Linked DNA regions of Homo sapiens: regions 1, 3 and 4 are each linked to region 2. Evidence: promoter capture Hi-C in 16 types of primary human blood cells and fetal thymus (Javierre and others, 2016). All regions are on one chromosome and are shown on one strand. Each heading gives the region's core, a stretch centred on a gene start or on the middle of the fragment in contact. The rest is flanking DNA. Distances are from core to core; before and after follow the strand shown.

Region 1 (6,668 bases), core at 1,454-3,953, 250 kb after region 2:
GTGGTGCTGAGTGTTGTTATGTTCTTTGCCATTTAATCCTAACAATTTTATGAAGAAGGGCAATTGCTGTTATTTTACAGAAAGTTTCCCTAGGGGTTATGGAGGTTACCCTACTTGCTAACAAATGACAAATCTGCTATATTCTTCTTCTTTTTTTTTTTTTTAAATCAAAGATGAGGTCTTTCTATGTTGCCCTGGCTGGTCTTGAACTTCTTAGCTCAAGCAATCCTCCTGCTTCAGCCTCCCAAAGTGCTGGGATTACAGGCATAAGCCACTGCACCCAGCTTTTTTTTAAAAAAAATTTTTTTGCCTCCCCAGAGCTGTAGTATTTTACTCTAGGCCTGACTGATATCAGAATCCAGTTATGTAATCACCTTTGCCTGTTGGTGTTTGTCTTAGTTTGTGGTGCTGTAACAAAGTAGCACAGACTGGGTGGCTTATAAACTTCTTTCTCATGGTTCTAGAGGGTAGAAGTCCACGATCAGGATGCCAGCACAGTTGAGTTCTGGTGAAGGTTCTCGTCCAGGTTACAGACTGCTGGGTTGTCATTGTGTCCACACATGACAGAAAGAAGGCTAGAGGGCTCTCTGGGATCTCCTTTATGAGGGCAGTAATTCGATTCATTAGGGCTTCACCTTCATGACCTAATTACCTTCCAAAGGTCCCACCTCCTAATATCATCACACTGGGAGTGAGGGTCTCAGCATATTAATTTTGGGGAGACACAAACATTCAGTCCATAACAGTGCATTACTTTTCTTCAGAATACCAATTGTTGCCACTGCAAAAGGTGAACTGTTAAATTGTAATTATTGTTGCAAGTGTTTGAAATTAGGGCTCTTGGTTCCTTTTTATAGATGGGACTTGCACCACAAGAGACTGATGTTTCATTTTGTTGGTTGACTTTAGAGGCGTAGATCCCCCACCATGTGACGCTGGGACAGACCAGGACTCCAGGTGGAGGTTGCAGTATGATGTCTATCAGTATTTTCTGCCTGAGAATGACCTCACTGAGGAGATGTTGCTGAAGCATCTGCAGAGGATGGTCAGTGTGCCCCAGGTGAAGGCCAGTGCTCTCAAGGTAAATCTGAGTCCCATGATTTGTGTGGCTGGATTGTGACACCTTTGTCAGAGTTGAGAAGGGGAGAAGCTACCAGGATCTTATTTCTTTACTCTTTTCTCCTTTTTGGGGGACACTCACTTTATTCTCTTTTGTTATCATCTTGGGAGTCTTTGCTGGTGATATCTCAAAATGATGTTGGCCTTTGAGGAGATGCATGTAAATTATGTTACGTTTTAGTTGCAGCCACATCTGTGACTTGGTAATCTGAAATGTGAATGGAAGGAGGTGGTAATTTTCTGTGTACTCCCACGACTACTGGGTAAACATTTTTGGCAAGTATGAAGATTACATTGTTTTGAGAAAAAAATAATGAGAAACTGCTTAAGGATATACACATTGGCATTCATATTTGAACCCAAACTCAAAGTCTAACTTGGAGTAAAATTCTTCTCTGAGCTTTTGAATCCATGTAAACCCTTGCTCCCCAGGTGTGGACCATGGACCAGTGGCATTGGCATCACTGGGGAGTTTGTGAGAATTGTAATTCTTAAACTCCACCCTGGAACTACTGAATCAGAATTTGCATTTTATATCCCTCAGGTGATTCTGACTGGGTGCAGTGGCTCACGCCTGTAATCCCAGCACTTTGGGAGGCCGAGGCGGGTGGATCACCTGAGGTCAGGAGTTTGAGACCAGCCTGTCCAACATGGTGAAACCGTGTCTCTACTAAAAATACAAAAATTAGCCAGGCATGTTGGTAGATGCCTGTAATACCAGCTACTTGGGAGGCTGAGGCAGGAGAATTGTTTGAACCCAGGAGGTGGAGGTTGCAATGAGCCCAGATGGTGCTGTTGCACTCCAGCCCTCAGGTGATTTTTATGCATATTAAATTTTGAGACTCACTGCAATAGATCATTTTTGTGGAGGGCAGGATTTTATCTTTATGTCTTGAAAAGTGCCTAACAGCAATATAATATATGAGGTCATCCTTCAGTCTAATGGTTGATGGGTGGAGTTTTTCTAGACAGCGTCATTGTGCTTATTCACAAAATAAGAAGCTCTGTTAGTAAAGTTTATTAGTTGCTTTATTAGATATGACATTTTAATACTATTATTATTTTTATGAAGAATATAAGAACTTGTATAATAGGCTTTTTGTAGGTTACTTTTAAACTTTTAGTTAAAAGAATATTTTGTACCAGAATGTGGGGAAACCCTCAAAGACTAATGAGGGTATGTCAAAGAGATTCAGGAGCCTGTTTGAAGGGGCTTGCACTGCCAAATTTGGGGCAGTTCAAGAATCAAGAAAAAGACTGTGGTTGTCAGCCTTGAATAAATACAAATGAAACCTTCCTCAGTTGCCACCACTGGAGGAGACTCTTACAGCAAATTACTCTAAAAATTGATAAAGAAATTTAGCTTGCCTTTTTAAAGGAGGAACTAATTCTTCCCCAGTTGGTGAGAGAAAGCTCTTTGCAGAAGAGTGCTGGCTAATATATGTAGAAGAAATAATAGAATTAGATGATCACCATTTTGTGACCCTCAATGAAATAATTCCAGCAAGGATCAGCAGGTGAAAGGTTTTTGGGGAACAGGATATTTCTAGGGTGTCTAAGTAGCATCCTTAGATTAATTCTCATTGTAAAAGGAGAACCACTTTAACATGGAGTGACCTTATAGTCTCCACCTATTCCAGGTGGGCAAAGCTAGTTTCACTGAAAATGGATCAGCCTGTATTACGTGCTTATGTAGTGCAGTCTGACATTATCACCATCACCTGTGGTATATTCTAGCAAAAAATGTCTAACCTGAATTTAGTCCATTGGATTCCCTATTTACAGGAAATATGGGGGATAAAAGAATAAGTTAGACACAAAATTGTGGAATACTTTATGAGAATACTGACTTCACATCTTCTACAGTCATTGGGTAGCTGGGAGAGAAAGGTGGGACAGACTGCTCTGGATTACTGAGATTGGCCGTAAACACCATGCATGGAACTTGGTTTGATCTTGGGTAAGAAGGAGAAAAGCTAGAAAAGATGTTAGGAGCCAGGAACAGTGGCACACACCTGTAATCCCAGCACTTTGGGAGGCTAAGGAGGGCAGATCACTTGAGCTCAGGAGTTTGAGACCAGCCTGGGCAACGTGGCAAAACCTCACAGCCACTAAAAAAACCAAAAAGTTCCAGGCGTGGTGGTGCGTGCCTGTAGTCCCAGATATTGAGGAGGCTGAGGTGGGAGGATCGCTTGAGCCTGGGAGAAGTTGCAGTAAGCTGAGATCACGCCACTGCACTGTAGCCTGGGCGACAGAGTGAGACCCTGTCTCAAAAAAAAAAAAAAAAAAAAAAGACATTAGGGAAAATCTGGATCATTTATTAGCTAATAAGAAATTATTCATTTTCGTAGGTGAGCTAAGGTATTGTTATATAGGAGAATATTCTTATACAGATGGTCCCTGACTTATGATGGTTTGACTTATGATCTTTTGATTTTAGTTTTGATAATTTCCTGAGCTAGCAATATACAGTATGATACTCTTGCAACGCTGAGCAGTGGCAGTGAGCCATCGCTCCTGCTTAACCACACGGGTAATAGCTAACATTTTACAGTGTACTGTATTCAATAAATTACATAAGCAATTAAACACTTTATTATAAAATAGCATTTGTGGGCCGGACATGGTGGCTCACGCCTGTAATCCCAGCACTTTGGGAGGCCAAGGCGGGAGGATCACAAGGTCAGGAGATCGAGCCCATCCTGGCTAACAGGGTGAAACCCTGTCTCTACTAAAAATACAAAAAATTAGCTGGGCGTAGTGGTGGTGGCGGGCGCCTGTAGTCCCAGCTACTCAGGAGGCTGAGGCAGGAGAATGGCGTGAACCTGGGAGGCAGAGCTTGCAGTGAGCCGAGATGATCGTGCCACTGCACTCCAGCCTGGGCAACAGAGCGACATTCCGTCTCAATAATAATAATAATAATAATAAAAAAATAAAATAGCCTTTGTGTTAGATGATTTTGTTCAACTGAATCTAATGTAAGTGTTCTGAGCACATTTAAGGTAGGCTAGGGTAAAGCCATAATGTTTGGTGGGTGAGGTACATTAAATGCATTTTGACTTTACGATGGGTTTATCCTGATGTAACCCCCTTGTAAGTCTGTACTTAGACTTACATCTGTACTGAGTAACTTGTTACTCAGAGTGTGGTAGGTGTTTGCATAGCATTGGCATCATCTGAGAGCTTTCTAGAAAGGCACAATTGCTAGTACCACGCTGACCTAAGAATCAGATCTACCTTTTAACAAGACTGCCCCCTGCGATTCACAAGCACGTTAAATTTGAGAAACACTGTGGTAGGACATGCACAGTGAAGTGTTTAGAAGTGAAATGTCATGATATCTGTAACTTACTTTCAGCAGGAAAAAAGTAGAGTTGGGGAGAAACTAGTGATAGAGAAGCAAATGTAAAATATTAACAATTGTTGATATTAGGCAGTATATAGTCTATTTATTGTGTTATTCATTCAACTTTTCTGTCTGGTTTAAACTTTTCATTGTAACTTGGGAGTAATATTAACAGTTTGTTGAACTTTACCAGACCTTTGCCCAGGAAGCAAGTTATTGAAGGCTAAGCAGTATTTTTAAACAATGGTAGTCTGATGTAGGAGGGCTCATAATAATTTTCTCCTAAAACCCTAATATTTATTTTTCTCAAATTAGTAGGAACATAGGTATTATGGTTCTATAAAGCATTTGTTTCTTCTATTTTATAGTTTACAATGGAATTTCTGAAGTTAAGAACTACTGGCCGGGCGCGGTGGCTCACGCCTGTAATCCCAGCACTTTGGGAGGCCGAGGCGGGTGGATCATGAGGTCAGGAGATCGAGACCATCCTGGCTAACAAGGTGAAACCCCGTCTCTACTAAAAATACAAAAAATTAGCCGGGCGCGGTGGCGGGCGCCTGTAGTCCCAGCTACTGGGGAGGCTGAGGCAGGAGAATGGCGTGAACCCGGGAAGCGGAGCTTGCAGTGAGCCGAGATTGCGCCACTGCAGTCCGCAGTCCGGCCTGGGCGACAGAGCGAGACTCCGTCTCAAAAAAAAAAAAAAAAAAAAAAGAACTACTACTACATAACAAAACCTCATGTAATATTTTCTTGTTTCAGAGACTGTTAGACAAAAATAAGTGGGTACTGTCTGCGAGATGTTAACAGACTGTCTGCGTTAGTCTGTGGCTAACATTGGACACATCCTCTGTGTTAGGCATTGGGCTGTACACTGAGGAAAGAGCAGTGCACAAGAGAAATACAGTTCCCATCCTTGTTTATAGTCTAGCAGAGGTGAAAAAACTTTTTTCATGGTCGTAACTAGCATTTATACATTGTTTATATCGCATTTTCCTTAAACTATTAAAAAAAACCTTTGGAAGCATTTTGTGTGAGAGCTTGTTTACATTAGCACATACAAACCATGTAAGATGGCCTTTTGACCATATTAAATGGGTTGGTGTATATTTTAAGCAAGAATTATAATTTATGAATATACCATTTAATATTACACGTAGGTGGGATTATCACAGAATAGCTTAAAAAAATCCCCTAAACACTAATCATGTGTTATTTTTGGCTTCAGGTGGTTACCCTAACAGCTAATGATAAGACAAGTGTTTCCTTCTCCTCCCTCCCGGGACAAGGTGTCATATACAATGTCATTGTTTGGGACCCGTTTCTAAATACATCTGCTGCCTACATTCCTGCTCACACATACGCTTGCAGCTTTGAGGCAGGAGAGGGTAGTTGTGCTTCCCTAGGTGAGTATGTGGCTTTAAACTTTTACAAATTCTCCTTTGGCCTTGCAGATAATGCTTTTGTCTAGTTCTCATTCATTCAACACATACCTTTTGAGCCCCTACGTTATTCCACTCTCTGTTCTAGGCACTGGGACATAGCAGTAAACAAAACAGCAAAAATACTTGTTCTGGAGCTTATATTATAGTGAGGGAGATGAGACAGACAAGATAAATTTATAAAATATGTAATACGTGAGAAAATGGTGAGTGCTAAGAAGATAAATAAAGTAGGAAAGGGAGATAACACATGCCAGTAAGAGGAAAATTTGAGATAGATAGCATGGCCAGGGCAGTCCTTGATGCACCACGCACGTACCTGGGTGTGGCATGTACCAGGCAGAGGGAGCAGCCAGGATGAGGGCCTGCACCTGGGAGCCTGTCTGAGGGTGTGAAGAACTGCAGTGATGACAGGGGTTGCAGGAGAACGAGGAGGGCAAAGGAAGTAGAGGTGAGGTGAGAGGTGCAGGGGCAGGCAGCCTGTGTGTGGCCTTGTAGACTGTAGTATGGGATTTTGCTTCTATTCTGAATGAAAGGGAAAGGCATTGGAAGGTTTTGAGCAAATGGTGCCATGATCTAAGATATTTTAATGAGATCACTGGCTGCTTTTTGAGAAAAGACGGAGGCAAGAGCAGAAATGCAGATTGGTTAGGAGGCCACTGAAGTAATCCAGGGGAGAGATAACTAGGTTAGGTAGAATGGGGGCAGTGAAGGTGTTGTGAGGGGTGTGTGTGTGTGTGTGTGTATTTAGCAGTTTATCTTGA
Region 2 (6,074 bases), core at 3,299-5,798:
CTCTGTCTTATTTCAATAATATAAACACACGTGCTTTAAATCCTGGCTTTAGTTCTGCTACTCTTCCCATTAGGTTTTAAGCTCATCAACCATCAACTGTCCTAGTATAGGTGTCTTCTAGAACCTACCCCATTGAGTCAAGTGGAGAATACTTATATTCGTTCACAGAGACTATGACTCTGGAGCTGTACTTAAACTATGAGTACGGTCAACTGCAGGCACTGACAAAGAAGCTGAAGAGTCTGGATCCTGCTGGACAGTTAGGAAAAGGCAGGCAATACCTCTCCCACCGCTCACCTGCTGTATTCCCTGCCTAGGTATACTTTTTTTCTAACCTTTAAATCCAATTGAATTTGTGATTCCAATTCTTAAACAATAACAAATGTGGACTATTCCTGAAACTTCATAAATAAAATCAGGTGGACATTTACAGTACTGAGTAGGCCTATACAAGACACTGTGCACTTCTATAGCACCCTTTATTTCACAAACCCAAAGAACTGTCAAAGTTGCCCCAACATAAAGTATCAGTGATGGAACTTCTCTCATTTTTACATGTACAACACTCTATTCACCCTGTTTCTGCCATTATAAGCATAGCTATTCATGAAAATAAACTAAAAGGGCTGAGACCAACATTCAATCATTAACTAAATTTCAACTTCATAATTCAACCCAAAAACTATCCAGTGCCAAGTGGTTTAAAAAATTATAGAACAGGGCTGGGCACATTGGCTCACACCTGTAATCCCAACATTTGGGAGGCCAAGGCAGGAGGATCACTTGAGCCAAGGAGTTCGAGACCAGGCTGGGCAACATAGTGAAACCCTGTCTCTACAAAAAATTTAAAAATCAGTCGGGCGTGCTTGTGCACACCTGTAGTCCGAGCTACTCAGGAGGCTGAGGTGGGAGGATCGCTTGAGCCTGAGAGGCAGAGGTTGCAATGAGCCATGATTGCACTACTGCACTCCAGCCTAAAAGACAGACTTAAACTCTGTCAAAAAAAAAAAAAAAAAAAATTACAGAACAAAGCCAAACACAGTGGCTCAGGCCTATAGTTCCTGCAACTTAGGAGGCAAGAAGATCATCTGAGCCCAGAAGTTCGAGTCCAGGCTGGGCAAGACAGTGAGGTTCTTTCTTTAAAAAAAATAAATTACAGGACAAAATATACAAAGACGCAAACATTCCATTAAGCAAAAGAGTTAATATGGAATAACTTCTCACTTCTAAGTTCTTATGAGTACTTATAGGTAATAAGTCAAAATTATTAAAAAGTCCCACTCAATAGTTATATTTAATCTGCACCAAGAATAACTTCCAAAAATGGATTAAAATAACATGTCAAAAATAACTCATTTACTTGGGTGTTATTTTGGAACTCTTTCTAGAAAACTGACCCCAAAATTTAGATGTCAGAAGAATGTATTTCCCAAGTCAAGTTTTTGAAACTACAGATCTGAGGAAGACCATCATGAACAGGAGAGAAAATATGGATTGCAGTTAAGCATGCCATATGGGTACAAGCCAGAATGCCTGGGTCAGAATCCTGGTCCTACCACTCAATAGCTATCTAACCTTAGTACCACAGTTACTTCATCTGCAAAACGGGAATAATAAAAATACCTACTCCATACAGTTGTTGTGAGGATTAAAGCCAGGCAAGTAAGTAATATATGTAAAGGATTTAGCAGGAAGCAGCATTATATAAAGTATTTACTTATCATCATTATCATATGACTAGATCACTTAAATCATCCACAGAAACGCCTTTTCCTATTTCAGTCTTCCTTAATTGGTCTAGCAGCACTTAATCCCTCCCTCCTTGGCTTCCTCATAAAACACATTTTCTATGGTATTTATTTGGGTAGGTATATTTCTCTCCCACTGGATCACATCTCCTTGAAGACAGCAACCACAGTTCGTCCGAGTGTACAGAGTAGCAACCACAGTTCGTCCGAGTGTACAGAGCAGCAAACACTGTTCACTGTTGCCTTTCATTTCTCTCCCTCTAAAGATTCTGAACAATAATACCCTGTCAATTAGCAAACTTTTACCTGGAGACAGAAGGCTTATGCAACCAGTGCACTTAAGTACTGGTCATACCTTGCTAAAGACTTTCTTAAGACTTAAACAAAAATTTTGGGGGGAAGAAGAGGAGGATATGCTTCATGTTTATAAACTAACCAAAGACAGATTTTTAATTTTTTAAAAAAGTTATGTCTTAAAAGCTTGCTTTCATTATTTCATTCAAAAAGACCATGGTGCTTTTAATATAAAAATACAGAAGCATAATTTCTGCATATGTCAAGTCTAACCTAATCATAACTTGCCAATCTGCTGATTTTAATGTAATCCTAAGGATGCTAGACAACAATATGCTTGCTTGATTCACCTGACACTATTTACATAAAATAAAAGCATTTTAACAATACATCGAGATGCAAATCTTTCTGGCTCTGATTTGTGCCCTTTCTCCCTCTTAACAAAAAGTGCCACACACACACAAAAGAGCCTCCAACTTATCCTGGATCACTGGGGAGGCACTTTCTAAGGTGCGTTATCCAATTTCACTAACACAATGATGCTCTCCTTACTTTAAGAGAACAGAACTTTTCTGAAAGCAAACAGCTGAACTGAGTCCATTGCTTTGTTATCATTTTTTAGGAAGTCCAATTTCTCCTTTGTTCTTACAGTGTCCTACCTTTAGAAATCAAGTTTTCAGCATAAAAACTAACAAGGACATCTATTTGTTGGCACAAATCATCTCAGTCTCCATTCTTTGACTTATTTTAAAACAAACTCAAGAGCAAATGGCTAGAGAAAAACTGCTTCTATTTAATGTGTGTTTTCTAAGTCTAATTTTTTCATTCCTAGTGGCAAGGCCTTTCAAAAGAGTACAAAAACTACACCCAACTTTGCTTCTCATTCTAAACACATCACAACCAAATGGGAAACATTATCAGCCATCTTAACAAGGAGAAAACAAAGCTAAGTGAGGTCAAACCAAAACATTTTTTAATTCATTGTACCTACCTATTTTGAGATCAGGATTTTTCAGATGGAAGTAGTTTGATGAACTTATGCAATAAAATTATGTAATATCATAATTTAACATAATATTTTAGACTAACTTCTCTCTCCTCAAATAGTCACAAGGGTGGCTAATTCACATACAATACCTCTCAGCCACTGGGGAGAGAGTATAATAAACTTAATTGTTTTACATATCCTGAGGCACAGAGAGAAAGGCCAATCAAATTCAAAGAGGTTTACAGTACCTTATATACATATATGATTGAGACAAAGAACTTTCAAGAATCTGTACTGAGGAAGCAAAAATGGGCTTAAGTACAATAGGCCCTGCCTTAAAGTAGAGAGACCGGTCAAACGTAAGCCCCAGCGCCAAAAAAGACAAGGTCTCACTCATCAATCCCCATCTTACAATCAAGAGGCAGAACTTAAATCACTTAAAGCTGTTTTTTCAGATTTGAGCAGTAAAATAAGCTAATAGGCCATTTCCGATTAAGTGGCTTCTCTCAAAACTTATCACAAGTTATGTGAAATGGGTAAAAGTGTTGGTTCTGCATTTTATCAAGTGAGAAACAATAGCATCCTACTTTTGGACAAGCCACTACTTCCAGAGCCACTAGCCCTCCCCCCACCTCCCACTTCTTTTTATATCATTCCTCCAAACTTAGAACCCGAAAAGCTATTCCACAAAACAAAAGCAGCACCAGTAAAAGGGGAGGCCACTGGTTTTGAAAATAAAGTTTGTTCTTTTGCTGTCAACCTGGCAACTTTTTAAAGGTGAAACGTGCCCTACTCAATCGGTTATACTCTTTTCTACTCCCACACCAAATAACCACTCGTTCGACCTCGATACTAAAGGTGAAAAAAGGAGTGGGAGAAATGATTTTGAAAGGAAGGGGCTACGGGTGCAATGGTAAAGACAGATTCTAAGACTGGTTTTGAGCACTCCGTGGCTTCTAGGAGCTGGGAGGCTTTCCTGAGTCTGTCTTGAGAAATGTTTGGCAATCTGACGCATCAGTTTTTAGGAACGGTACACAAACAGCCCCCACAATTGAAGAGCCATGCTTCGGATCCTGGCTCTGGGTGACATCGGCTGGAGGGCACGGGACGGGAGCGCTGGGGCTACCCGGAGAGGATCCGCGACATTTGTTATTGTTTGTGAAGCCCAGGCGGGGACCCGGAGCGGAGTGCTCGGGGGCCGGGGAGTGGAAGGAGAAAGGAGCAGAGGACAAAGATTCCTCCCCGGGTGCGAGGCTCCCTCTCTGGACACATGGGGCCAGTATCACCCCGGGGAATAAGAGGGCCAAGGCCGTCGCCGCAGGTTCCCCGGAGACATTTCCAGCCCCAGAATTAGCCCGGCTTTCCCTGGACACCCAAAGACACCTAAAATCTCCTCCTGCTCCTGCTCGCAGAGTTGGGGCTGGCGCGGCGAGCTCGGGCCCTCAGCCGAGCGCTACATCCGCGAACTCACCTGCCTCCGGTCGCGCCCGCGGCCGGCTCAGCCTCCGCACGGACCGCAGCCGGCCGGGCGCCCGTCAGCTCCCTTCTCCCCGCTCCGCCCTCGCCCCGCCCCCGGGAGGTGGGACCCGCGGCCTCGCCGGAATCTCAGGGCGGCCTCCCTGAACTCTCGCGAGCCTTGCCTCCTCGGCTTCTCGGTGGCTGGGTCGGTCCGACTCGCCCTGACGTCATACGCACCACAGCCGGAAGTAGCCTTCTGTCGTCAACGCCCGTCTTCCCGGCCCCACCCATCTCCGCCTGGTGAAGGCCAGACTGGTTTTGAGGGAGTTGACTGAACTGTCGCCACTTCCCCTCTCACCAGCCTCACCTCACTGCCGTTTTTACGCCAAACCTGTTCAGGCCTCTCTTGAGAGTGGCCTAATGTGTTGCGACATTAGTCACATTCTAAATGTCATCCGAATTTTTCAAACAGTGCAATGCAAAGAATGTTAGAAATGGAAAGAGAGAATTCACGCATTTTTCAGATTGGGAAACAGTTGTCAACAAAGATGGATCAGCTAAGTTGCTCAGTCGGTAGCTGTGGGGACTCGAAGCCACCCAGGTTCCTTGACGCTTCCATTTCACCATGAGGGGACTCCAGAGACTGGAGAGGAACCAGGATTTGTAAATGCCACAAAAAATACATTAAAAACCTGTTTGAGTTTTCTTGGAAAATCTAAAATAACTACAGTACTGGCCTGCTTTATCAGTAGGATCTGAGAATTGTGCAGAAGAGCACTCCCCTATAGGATGACCCAAAAGGGACAACTTTGGGAAGGTTGATGCAATTTGCGTCTGGGGACAAAACTGGCCTTTGGGAAAGCCAAATGAGAGAATGACTCCCAATTATTGTTGGCAAGTTTATCCTCAATATGAGTATTGGAGGTCTTATAAAATATTCTTAGCTTTTAGCTTACTGAGACAACGTATGAAGCTGGTACTGTGCTTGCAAAAACTATCACTTAGAAATGCCACCTGTCATCTTTAGGTTTCCCAAGAGCAGGTGACACGAGCAAAACACCTAGGAAAGAAGCATTACCTCATTTCTCTTTCTTACACTGTGCTTTTTCATACATAGCTTAGTAGTGGGAAAAGCTCTAGTTTGGTAATTAGTGTATTTTTGGGGAGATCAGCTCCACTTATATGGTCATTTTGAAACTCAAATGACAGTTGTCATATACAAGCATAGGAGGTTTAATTGTGATCAGACAAGCTTGACAGGCCTATACACCCTTCTCCCTGTACTGCACGCATACACATACCATTCAAATGCTACGATAAGATTGAGAACAGTGTATGGTTTGTTCCACAGCAAATTTATGTCTTCAAATGTGCCATACTAGAGTAATATGAACTAGTATAGAGTAGCAGTCTAGGTTAATATGGGATAGCCTAAGACTTTGACCTCTAGTTCCTAAATTCTCCTAAATTGAGACCATTGTAAACAAATTTCCCTGGGAAGTTGTTGAAAGTACCTCAACTGAAACAAATTAGAGCTATGAACCAGAATTTTGGTGGTCTATGGACCCCTTTTCAAAACAGTGTTC
Region 3 (5,916 bases), core at 3,241-5,740, 140 kb after region 2:
TTGATCCCAAAATAACAGCTCTGAAGAAGCCATTCAGGTTTTAATTCAAAAAATCTCTCCCTTTAAACCTCAACCACTATAGGTTCATATGTCTGCAACATTTTAGAGATTCTTAAATACAACCCTCCTTGTTTTCTGGTTCTCTGCTATGTATCTGTCATCACATACTTTTTTCCTCCCCACTCTATTAGCCCAAACCCTTCTCACCACCAATCTGCTCCAACATCCCTAGAAAATTAATTCAGAATCACTTGGAAAGGGCAAAACGAGGGCAGGGGAAGTGATGAAACCGGAAAAGGTCAGGAGTGTTGGCAGCAGGGGCGATACCTAATGTTACAACACACATTTTTTTTAATGGGGTTTGGCTGTATTACCCAGGCTAGCCTTAAACTCCTGGGCTCAAGTGATCCTCCCAACTCAGCCTCCTCAGGAGGCTTCAAACTGTAAAATAAGGCCAGGCACAGTGGCTTACCCCTGTAATCCCAGCACTTTGGGAGGCCGATGCGGGCAGATCATTTGAGGTCAGGAGTCCGAGATCAGCCTGGTTAACATAGTGAAACCCCATCTCTACAAAAAACACAAAAATTAGCCAGGCGTGGTGGCGTGCACCTGTAGTCTTAGCTACTTAGGACGCTGAAGCAGAAGAATCACTTGAACCTGGAAGGCAGAGATTGCAGTGAGCCGAGATAGTGCCACTGCACTCCAGCCTGGGTAACACAGCAAGAAAAAAAAAAAAAACTATAAAATAAGTTTAGAGTGGATGGTATAACTGGAAACTTGAACAGCATGTATTTGATATTAAGGAATTACTGTCATTCTAAGGTTATTAATAATGCTATTATAACTTATCTTTGTTGAGTCCTTATTTTTTAGAGCCAAGTAGCAAAATACTCATAGATGAAATAATATATTTCGAATTTGTTTTAAAATAAAATAGAAGAAAATAGGGTAAAGATATTGATAAAACAAGATTAGCCATAAGTTGATAATTGTTGAAAATGGGTGATGGTATTTGAGGGTACACTATACTATCTATCTATACATATATTTTTTGAAACAGAGTCTCATTCTATCGCCCAGGCTGTAGTGCAGTGGTGCAAACATGGCTCACTGCAGCCTTAACTTCTCCAGGCTCAAGCAATACCCCCATCTCAGCCTCCCAAGTAGCTGGGGCTACCACACCTGGCTAATTTTTGTATTTTTTGTAGAGACAGGGTTTCGCCATGTTGCCCAGGCTGGTCTTGAACTCTTGGGTTCAAGCGATACGCTCACCTCAGCCTCCCAAGTACTGGGAATACAAGTGTGAGCCACTGCACCCAGCTGGGTATTCTATCTATGTTTTTATATATTTGAAGCTTTCCATAATAAAACATTTCCATTTTTATCCATATATTTAAACCATAAAATTTTCAAACACCTTCAACCATGATATATTGTCTTAGATATTTTATTTCTCTACCATAACCTCAAGCATACTAAGGGCTCACCAAATATTTATAAACCAAATAACACAATACTTGTTATTTTAACCACCCTCACAAACACAAACACACACATGCACACGCACATTCAGAAAATGAAACACCTGCTCACAGAGGATTATAAGGCAGAGTACAAAAGAGGGCGTATTAATGACAATACATTAGTAAAAGTTACTTCTCTTGTTCACTACAATGAAATGCCACAAAATACAAAAAAGCAAAGCTAGTAAGTAATCAAATAAATGAAGCAGCAAGGGAAAATAGGATGAGGTAAAAGGAAATGAGCCCTCTGGCTCTCTGCTATTAATGCTTAGGAATAACCAGAAGAGAGTTGATGAAAAGGTTTATACAATAAGCCAAGATCTTTTACTTCTCAAATAAAGGATGCTGCTGCTATTGAAAAACTGATGTGTATTAAATGTCAGTAGATTTGAAGATCTTGTGATAAGTTGAAAGAAAGCCCCATTTCTCGATATCTACTCTTACTAGCTATTGTTATGACTACATGGAGAAGTTAGGAATTTGTTCAAGGTCACTGAAGAAGTGAGATTTGAGTCCAAAACCCATGTTGTTCCCATGTATTCCTCTCACTCATTCAGTAGGTATTTAACAAACAACTATTAGGCCTTGACTGGGATCACCAACCTTGACCTCCCTCACATGTTTCTAATCCAAACTATAAACTATGTACAGGACTGCCAGCCTCCCACCATACTGCAAAGACATGCCCTGCTTGGAAGACATTTCTAACCTCTCACCTCTGTGCCATGACACGCACTGATCCCCCTACTTCTTGGGCCCTCTTCTATGTCCTGGGACACATGTTTTCAAGGTGGGTCAGGCATTCTTTCCTCCAAGGCCAGCCCGACTGCCACCACCATGACAGCCCTGATTTTACAGTGATTGTCTCCTGGACAAAGCTGTGCACTCCTTGAAAACAGACTGTGTTTCTGCTATCTGTTCCCCATAATCTAGTGTGGTAGACACCAAATGCTTGCTGTGTGCAGCTATGACTCAGTGGCCCTGCAAACACATACACGCTCTGATGTCTTAAGTACTCCAGATCCTATATGCGTAATTCAGAAAACTACATCCTGACCTTTACTTGTTTTTGTTTGATTTTTTTTTTTTTTTGAGACAGGGTCTTGGCTCTGTCACACAGGATGGAGTGCAGTGGCATGATCGCGGCTCACTGCAGCCTTGACCTCCTGGGCTCAAGTGATCCTCCCACCTCAGCCTCCCCAGTAGCTAGGACTACAAGGTGGGCACCACCATGCTCAGCTGATTTTTTATTTTTAGTAGAGGGCAGGTCTCACTACGTAGCCCAGGCTGGTCTAAAACTCTGAGCTGAAGCAATCCTTCCGCCTTGGCTTCCCAAAGTGCTGGGGTTACAGGTGGGAGACACTGCACCCAGCCATGACCTTAACTTTTAAGATACATTTAGATAAACGTGATTATTGCTATCAGCCTTGCTATGCACAATCTTAAAAAGTGAAATTTCATGCTCTTCGAGATGTAGGTGAATCAAATTCATTGTACTATTTTAGAATGACATTATTCCTAAGAGTTTGCAAACTTAGTCCCCAGTATTATGGAGGAGTATCGGTGGGTCTGTTTCAACTTGTTATTGCTCTAACCACTCGAACTCTAACCTCATTCTTCCCTTCTTTTTAGCTCTTAAAAACCTGGAGACTCATCTATCTCTATTTTCCTTCACAGGCCTACCAACCTAATGTATGCAGGCTACATGGACTGCTTCCTAGATGTAAACAGTTCTGGGATATGTATACCTATAGGAAGACAGGAGTGAGCAACAGCTACTCATAGTTCTGAAGAAGAAAAGAATAACAAATTCCTATACACAAGCACCTTCTAAAGGAATGTTTTATAAATCGTGGGTCACAACTGCTAAAATTGGAACATACTGAAATAGAATTAATAGATTGAAATCAGCATTTCTTTGTATTAAATAGACAACAAAAGAGTAGTTCATCAGAAGTAAAGGTTAAGCATTATCGTGTGAAAATTCTGATTTGATTATTCAGACACACACATACACACACACGTACCTGCAACAAATATTGATTGAGGGCCTCCTATGTGCCAGGTATTAGAGGCAGAACAGTGAAAAAGACCAAGAAAAGCGAAGCTCTGCCTTTAGGTGGCTGACATTCCAGTGGTTTCAGAGTATGTGTGTGTGTGTGTCTGCACAGGCATGTACACACTCATGTGTTTTACAACCTAAGAATGCATACTTTATACTGGGATAAAAACGTTTGAAAACCACTGCTCTGAAGTGGTGTTGCTTAGAATGTGGTCTGTGGACTGGAGCTGGTGCACGAACTGTTGCTGGTCTACTATAAGTACAGAAATTGAGAATAACCACTTTAACAACTGCATAGCAACTTGACCTTGCTGTGATATCCAATTATGTGATAGTTCTGCTGGCAACTCAATTTTCTTTTTAAATTGAATTTTAGAAAACAGATTAATTCATGATGGAAAACAAAATGAGGCACATTGGCCAGGTGTCTTGGGAGTAGGTTACATCACACTCTGATTGGAAACCGCAGCCATGGACCACAGCTGTAAAAAGGTGCAACACAGGGAGCAAGAAAACCCCAACAAATGGGGAGTATGGTCCAGGTTTGTTCTTTCCACACATATAAAATGATGAAGACAATTAAACGGCAAGTGGAAAACTGTTAGCACCGACAATAAGGATGGGCTGCTAAGTTCAGAAGAGGTGACACAAAAACCATTTCTGGTTGCATAAAATTTACATCAGTTGCAGTCACATAGTTGGACTGCTTATTTGCCTAATTATGATGCATCATCTGACCTGCTTTAATTACACCAATAAAAGCTATATAATTTGTGTTAAAGTTTCAGTTTGTCACATGGTCAAAACTCACTGTATTAAAAAGCTGGAAGAAACTTGCTAGCATATAAAATTGATTGGGAAGACTGGTAAAAACTGTGGGCTAGGAAACAGTTTTGTGGAGGAATAAGTTTTCATAAATAATCTTATAAACTCAACAGTTTGTCTTGTAGGTAATTTCTGTTGGTTTCTATTCCAACTGGGTGTCAGTTACACTCTTGGCCATACAGTAAGAGGAATGCCAACACTGCTTGTTCCTTTATAGCACACGTGCTCCTGGCCAGAATCACCAGTTTTCGGCTGTTGGAGAAGAGAAATGAAAACCAGAGCCCTGAAACTGTACAGCTGGAAAGTTCAAAATATATTCTTAACATTGTTATTTCCTAATAAAATATTAAGAGACATATGGAAAATTTGTATACTGAGCCAAATACTAAGGGGTAATGTAATGCTTTTCAAATTATTCATATTTCAGTTCTGAGTGAATAGCACTAATTGCTGGCTGAAGGGAGGAGTAATGAGGGGGAAAGTAAGGCCAAAAATTATTCCCCAACCCAGGAGTTGGCAAACTATGACCTATGGTCAAATCTAGCCCACTGCCTGTTTTTATAAAGTTTCTTTGGAACACAGTCACATTCATTCGTTTACATATCATCTATGGTGGCTTTCATGCCACAACAGCAAAGTTGAGTAGTTGTAACTCACGAAGCCTAAAATATTTACTATCTGGCTCTTTGCAGAAAATGTTTCCAGCCCCTTCCCTAACCTACCTTATCCTACAGCCTCCTGAAAGTGCACAGACTCTTCTCTCATTCACCCACTGATTACACAATATTTATTGAGTACCTATTGTATATCAGGCACTATTCTAAGTGGTGAAGCTGGCAACTCAATTTTCTTTTTAAATTGAATTTAAAAAGTAATGAAGAAAAAGCAAAGAAAGAAAATAGAAAAGGAAAAAAAGTAAAAAGTTGTTGCTCTGATGGCACATACATTCTAATGGCAAGAAACCACAAAAAATAGTTTAAATACATAGCAGATGAGAGGGTGATTGATAAGTGCTATGGGAAAAATAATGAAGCAAGCAAGAGGAATAACATTAACATTAGCTTACTATGTACCGGGCACTGTTTTTTAGTGCTTTTCATATATCAATTCAATTAATCTTTACAATAACCCTAATGACACGATACTTATCCCCACTTTATTAGTGATCAAACTGAGGCACCAAGTCACACAGCTAGAAAAATGATGTGAAGTCAGACAGTCTGGCAGCAGAGCATGTCCGCTTAATTATATACTGTGCCAGCTCTTCGTGCAGAAAGGGAATGGCAGGGACTTAGAAGTTTTGATCTGATAATCAGGGAGGGCCCCATTGGTAAAGTGACATTGATTAAAACCTTGAAGAAGGTGAGGGGAGAAAGTCACAGGAATATCTGGGAAGAGATTCCAGGGAGAAACAACAGTAAGTGCAAAGGCCCCGAGGAGGGGGAGCTTCATGTAGTTGATGTTTGAGGTCAGTGGGCTGGAAGGTGGTGAGCCGGGGGGTTAGTA
Region 4 (6,058 bases), core at 2,619-5,118, 200 kb after region 2:
CAAGTAATCTGCCTGCCTCGGCCTCCCAAAGTGCTGGGATTATAGGCATGAGCCACCATGCCCTCCCAAGAAATGTTTTTAAATATGCTTTGTTTTTATAAAATTTGGGTTGGTATTGATGGGTTTCATTAAGCAATATTTCAAAAATAACAATTGTTAATATTATCACTGGTCTCACCATAAATATATCATAAAAGTCTCTAAATATTGGGAAGCTGTCAAGCTCATAGGGAGGATACAAGTTTTCCAAAATTCCAATTTTCACTTGAAAACTCAATTTTTTTTCACTAGTAAACAATACTGTTCAGTTGTGTTCCCAGAAGTGACAGGAATACTTGCTTCATTTTATGAGATAAAATGATATGATGGTCTGGTTATAAGTTTAGTTTACTTCAATATTTGGTGTTAATGGCTCTCAAAGCTAAAAAAGATCCTGCAGAGAAGTATGGATTCAAATGGAAGAGTTAGCTTCACTTACTAAATCAGAGTATTAATTTTTCACTCCATTCACCAATTAAAAAGATATGTTAATTACCCTGATCTAATCACTACAGTATATGTATTGAAACATCGCTATGTACCCCATGAATATGTACAATTATTATCTGTCCAGTTATAAAAACAAAACAAAAAAGAGGAGCTAAAAAGGAAGATTTTTGTTTAAGTAATAAATTTATATTTTCTTCGATGTCAATAAATTACTCTTGGAAGCAATAAAAGGTTTTGCATTTTCATATTTTAAACAAATAGGTTTAAAACTAACTTTTTGAAAATATTTAAAAATAGAGCAGATAAATTTGTTTTAGCAACAGATAGGAGAGTTTTATAGATGGACATACATCATTTTTGACAATAAACTCTTGTAACGATGGAAATATTTCCAAATATCTGTTGTCAAAATGCCTTTTATCTTGGAGTTTTTTTCAAAATGTGGATATATATTTTCTCACTCATTGTAAAGTGCTCCCTTTTCTTGAAGGTGAAACATTAAACATGTTTTGGTATACATTTGTTTTATTTTGTTTCTCATTTTTATTTCCATACAACCACTATGAAACAGTTTTACAGTGTTATAAAAAAAAGTTAAATACTATATACACCTATTATATGATCCAGCCATTCTACTCCTTAGGTATTTACCTAAGAGAAATTAAAGCTTAAGTCCATACAAATACTTGTATGTAAATGTTCATAGCCACTTTATTTGTGTTTGGCAAAAATTAGAAACAACCCAAATGTCTGTCAACAGGTAAACTAATAATGGTTTAGCCATACAGTGAAATATGTCACAGTAACAAAGATGTAAGTAACAAAAAGGTATGACCTATTGATACATATAAAGTACATACTGTAGATTCCACTTGTATAAAACTCTAGAAAATGCAAACTAATGACAGAAGGAAGATTAGTGGTTATCTGGGGTAGGGAATCAGGAGCAAGGAGGGGAGAGAAGATAGAATTTCATAGGGGTATGAGAAAACTTTTGAGGGTGATGAATATATTTATCATCTTGATTGTGTTGGTTTCATTGGTATATACATATGTCAAACTCATCAAATTGTACAGTTTAAATAGGTGCAGTTCATTGCATGTCAATTGTACCTCAATTTAAAAATGAAATGAAAAAACTACAATGAGTTACCATTATACACCCACTAGAATGGCTAAAGTTAAAAGACTTTGCCCACTGCTGGTGAAGGTGTGGGGCAGCTGGAACTCTCCTACACTGCTGATGAGAATGCAAAAGAGTACAATGACTGGAAAATAGATGGGCACTTTCTTGAAAACTTAAAACACTTTTGCCAAATATCCCAGCCATTCCACTTCTACATATTTATTCAAGAAATATGGGAACATGTCCACACAAAGACTTGTATATGAATATTCATAGCAGCTTTATTCATAATAGCCCAAACCTGGAAATAGCCCAAATGTCCATCAACAGATCAATGGATAAACACATTTGATAGATCTATTAAATGGGATACACTATTCAACAATAAAAAGATTGATACACCAACGAGATACATAAATCTCAAAATCATTATACTTAATGAAAGTAGCCAGACCAAAAAAAAAAAAGAATACATGCTGTATTATTCCATTTATATAAAATTCTAGAAAATGCAAACTAACCTATCAGAAAGCAAATCAGGAGTTACCTGGGGATAGAAGGAAGGATAAAACTAAAAGGAGCAGGAGGAAACTTTTGGGGTTGATGAAATGTTTGTTGTCTTGATTTTGATAATGGTTTCATAGATACATGTCAAAACTTACCAAATGTGGAAGGCTGAGGTTGCAGTGAGCTATGACTGTGCCATTGCACTCCAGCCTGTGTGGCAAAGCGAGACCCTGTCTCAAAAACAAAAACAAACAAAAACTTAGCAAATTGTGCACTGCACACACATACATACAAACACATATGTAGTTTATTGTCATCAATTAAACTTCAATAAATCTGTAAACAAAAAAAGTGGAATATGATCATTGCTAAATGCTATCAATGAATACTTTGGGGGGGAAATGAAAGGCTAAGGGTATTAATCATCGACTGAAGGCAAAGTGTGAAAGCTAGAAGGCCTCTTTGGCAGCAGATGCTCATCTCTTGTAGTCTGGAGGCAGAAAAAACTGAGGATCAGATTCAGCCTTTAATTCCAAGAGTAGTGAACAAGCTCTAGAAATATATGATTCTCAACTCAGGCAAGTTGGCTTCATCAAGGTCAGGGAGGGTATTGATGGGAAGGACTGTGATCTTAAGACTTGGAATGGGTCCTCTTGGTTAATATGCTGAAAATCTTGAATCGCACTTCCCCTGATTCCTCCGGGCTGGCACAAGCAGCCTTCTCCTCTCCCTCTCTTAAAGGTTAGCTCTACCCATTTCCTGGAAGATGATGCCAAGTCCTCTACTTTGCAAGATAAATGCCACCCCCCACCCACCCACCTCTGCCCAGGATACACACCTGATATACTTTGGATGTGTGTCCCCACCCAAATCTCATATAAAAAATCCCCAATGTTGGAGGTAGGCCATGGTCAGAGGTGATTGGATCATGGTGGCAGATTTCTCATGAATGGCTTAGCACCATCGTCTTGGTACTGTCATCACAACAGTGAGTGAGCTCTTGTAAGATCTGGTCATTTAAAAGCATCTCCCCCTCATTTTCTTGCTCCTGCTCTGGCCATGTGATATGCCTGCTCCCCCTTCACCTTCTGCCATGGTTGTAAGTTTCCTGAGGCCTCCCCAGAAGCCAAGCACTTGTTAGCACTGTGCTTCCTGTACAGCCTGCAGAAACGTGAGCCAATTAAACCTCTTTTATCAATTACCTAATCGCAGGTATTTCTTTATAGCAATGTGAGAACAGAGTAATGCAACCCCCACCTCACATTCTGGCTACCCAATAAAAAATTAGGATCAATCATGATATAACACAGCTTGGGGGTGCTGGGTCTGTTATGGAGGAAAAGGCGCTGCAGGTCCTAGTTAAGATGTACTGGCAAGAGCTGAGAAAATACACATGAGACTGGAACATGAAAATGCAGTCAAGGAGAATAATGTTGGATAAGGGAGAGTATATCGACATAAGGATGGATCATTCTCCTGTCATATTACATTCAACATCTTGGGTAACAACTGGTTCATAAAACTTCAAAAAATGTAACAATCTTGTGAGAGTTGATGAGAATAAATCCATCTTGTGAGAGCTGGTTCTAGACACCAGTGGCTAAGTCTGATGGTTGATGTTGGTACCAAACTACGCTACATGATGGCAATGGGAATAACAGGATCCCCAAACAAAAGGTGCCTGGTGGCAAATCTAAACCATCAGAACCAAAATAGGCTTAATTACTGTAATAACAGCAAAGTCTGAGTAGCAAGTAATGGAGTTTCCGACCCTCGGAGAGCTATGAAGATTAAGAGAACATGAGTCCCTAAGGGCAAGAGAGACAGGCAGCATTGCAATCAATGGAATCAATTAAATGGGATGCTATTCAAAAATAAAAAGATCGATGCACTAACAATCTGTGTAAATCTCAAAATCATTGTACTTAATGAAAGAAGCCAGACACAAAGAGTACATGCCATATGATACACAACAAAGATAGATGACTAAAATCCTGAGAGCACTTCCCAACAAAAAGTCATGATGTCTTCCCTGTTTCAGAACTTGAGACCTTTTTCAGATTCAGAACCCAATGACTGAACAACAATGAGGATCTTGCGTGAGAAAAACCCTATAATGCAAGTGTTTACAATGATTCTCTCATACCTATCCCAAAGAGACCTGTGGCCATTTACTCAGGTTACTGTATACAAGGGAAAGAGACAAGCCAAGGCATTTTGAGGAGTTTGTTGGTGGCAGAGTCTGTTTTGACATTAATACCTAAGAATTAATGCAGAATTAATTCAAAGGGGCATTATCATGGCCACCTTGTTGGGGAAAAGGGTTATGGTTGCCAGATGATACATGGGGTCCTTGCAAAGATCCCACTCACAGTAGGTTCACTGGTTTCATGACCCATCAGTGATTATTTCCCTGGTCACTGACTTTGTAGTTAGCACAACCCCCACACTGGTTTCTTAACCAATGGTGTAAGAGCTACGGAAGTGGGGAAAGCCAAGTGGAGACTCTGAAACTGTCCCTCTCATCCTGTCTCAGCCAATATAGTAAATTTTAAAAGAATACGGCATTGACAATATTGTACATAAAAGACAAATATTATAAATAATTGTAAAAATGTAAAAAAATTATATTGTAAATTAAAAACAATATTGCCTGGGACTATGGTAGACGTTAAAGTCATCCTTAAAGACCCAAAAGTTGCAGGCACTGTGATCCCCATCAAGTGCCTACTTAATTCACCGGTCTGACCCTATAAAAACCAGATATGTCTTAAAGGATGATACTAGACTCCTGCTCATCTATAAACTGATTTACATTCCATAAAAATACCATGAGGTCTTTTTTTGATTGGTAGGCTATTAATTATTGCCTCAATTTCAGAGCCTGTTATTGGTCTATTCAGGGATTCAACTTCTTCCTGATTTAGTCTTGGGAGGGTGTATGTGTGCAGGAATTTATCCATTTCTTCTAGATTTTCTAGTTTATTTGCACAGAGGTATTTACAGTATTCTCTGATGGTAGTTTGTATTTCTGTGGGATCGGTGGTGATATCCCCTTTATCATTTTTTATTGCATCTGTTTGATTCTTCTCTCTTTTCTTCTTTATTAGACTTGCTAGTGGTCTATCAATTTTGTTGATCTTTTCAAAAAACCAGCTCCTGGATTCATTGATTTTTTGAAGGGTTTTTTGTGTTTCTATTTCCTTCAGTTCTGCTCTGATCTTAGTTATTTCTTGCCTTCTGCTAGCTTTTGAATGTGTTTGCTCTTGCTTCTCTAGTTCTTTTAATTGTGATGTTAGGGTGTCAATTTTAGATCTTTCCTGCTTTCTCTTGTGGGCATTTAGTGCTATAAATTTCCCTCTACACACTGCTTGAAATGTGTCCCAGAGATTCTGGTACGTTGTGTCTTTGTTCTCATTGGTTTCAAAAAACACCTTTATTTCTGCCTTCATTTCGTTATGTACCCAGTAGTCATTCAGGAGCAGGTTGTTCAGTTTCCATGTAGTTGAGTGGTTTTGAGTGAGTTTCTTAATCCTGAGTTCTAATTTGATTGCACTGTGGTCTGAGAGACAGTTTGTTATTTCTGTTCTTCTGCATTTGCTGAGGAGTGCTTTACTTCCAACTATGTGCTCAATTTTGGAATAAGTGCAATGTGGTGCTGAGAAGAATGTATATTCTGTTGATTTGTGGTGGAGAGTTCTGTAGATGTCTATTAGGTCCCCTTGGTGCAGAGGTGAAGTCCTGGATATCCTTGTTAACCTTCTGTCTCCTTGATCTGTCTAATGTTGACAGTGGGGTGTTAAAGTCTCCCATTATTATTGTGTGGGAGTCTAAGTCTCTTTGTAAGTCTCCAAGGACTTGCTTTATGAATCTGGGTGCTCCTGTATTGGGTGCATATATATTTAGGATAGTTAGCTCTTCTTGTTGAATTGATCC

What was found. Contacts are between HindIII fragments. The CHiCAGO score rates a contact against its expected background, and 5 or more counts as called.
Region 1: a fragment that was not itself captured here is called in contact with the fragment with the promoter of STK38L in region 2 in 2 of 17 cell types (neutrophils and monocytes); the score reaches 7.4 in neutrophils.
Region 3: a fragment that was not itself captured here is called in contact with the fragment with the promoter of STK38L in region 2 in 1 of 17 cell types (neutrophils); the score reaches 5.5 in neutrophils.
Region 4: a contact is called between a fragment that was not itself captured here and the fragment with the promoter of STK38L in region 2, in 3 of 17 cell types (M2 macrophages, M0 macrophages and M1 macrophages). The highest score is 9.4, in M2 macrophages.

The regions. Positions count from the first base shown.
Region 1 is chr12:26,989,650-26,996,317 of GRCh38, reverse strand. It overlaps TM7SF3 (transmembrane 7 superfamily member 3), which reads left to right. Exons shown (of 12, transcript NM_016551.3): 5 at 910-1,081; 6 at 5,691-5,868. Among named protein-coding and RNA genes, the nearest start is that of TM7SF3, 21 kb to the left of the region's middle. The HindIII fragment of the contact is 8,079 bases long and covers 1-6,668 here.
Region 2 is chr12:27,242,760-27,248,833 of GRCh38, reverse strand. It overlaps STK38L (serine/threonine kinase 38 like), which reads right to left and starts at 4,548. Exons shown (of 14, transcript NM_015000.4): 1 at 4,502-4,548. RefSeq lists enhancers at 3,140-3,189, 5,778-5,837 and a silencer at 4,480-4,719. The HindIII fragment of the contact is 3,512 bases long and covers 2,231-5,742 here.
Region 3 is chr12:27,102,543-27,108,458 of GRCh38, reverse strand. It overlaps the pseudogene LOC124902904. Among named protein-coding and RNA genes, the nearest start is that of C12orf71, 23 kb to the right of the region's middle. RefSeq lists an enhancer at 4,275-4,444. The HindIII fragment of the contact is 6,266 bases long and covers 1,358-5,916 here.
Region 4 is chr12:27,042,452-27,048,509 of GRCh38, reverse strand. No RefSeq gene overlaps it. Among named protein-coding and RNA genes, the nearest start is that of MED21, 23 kb to the right of the region's middle. The HindIII fragment of the contact is 5,419 bases long and covers 1,159-6,058 here.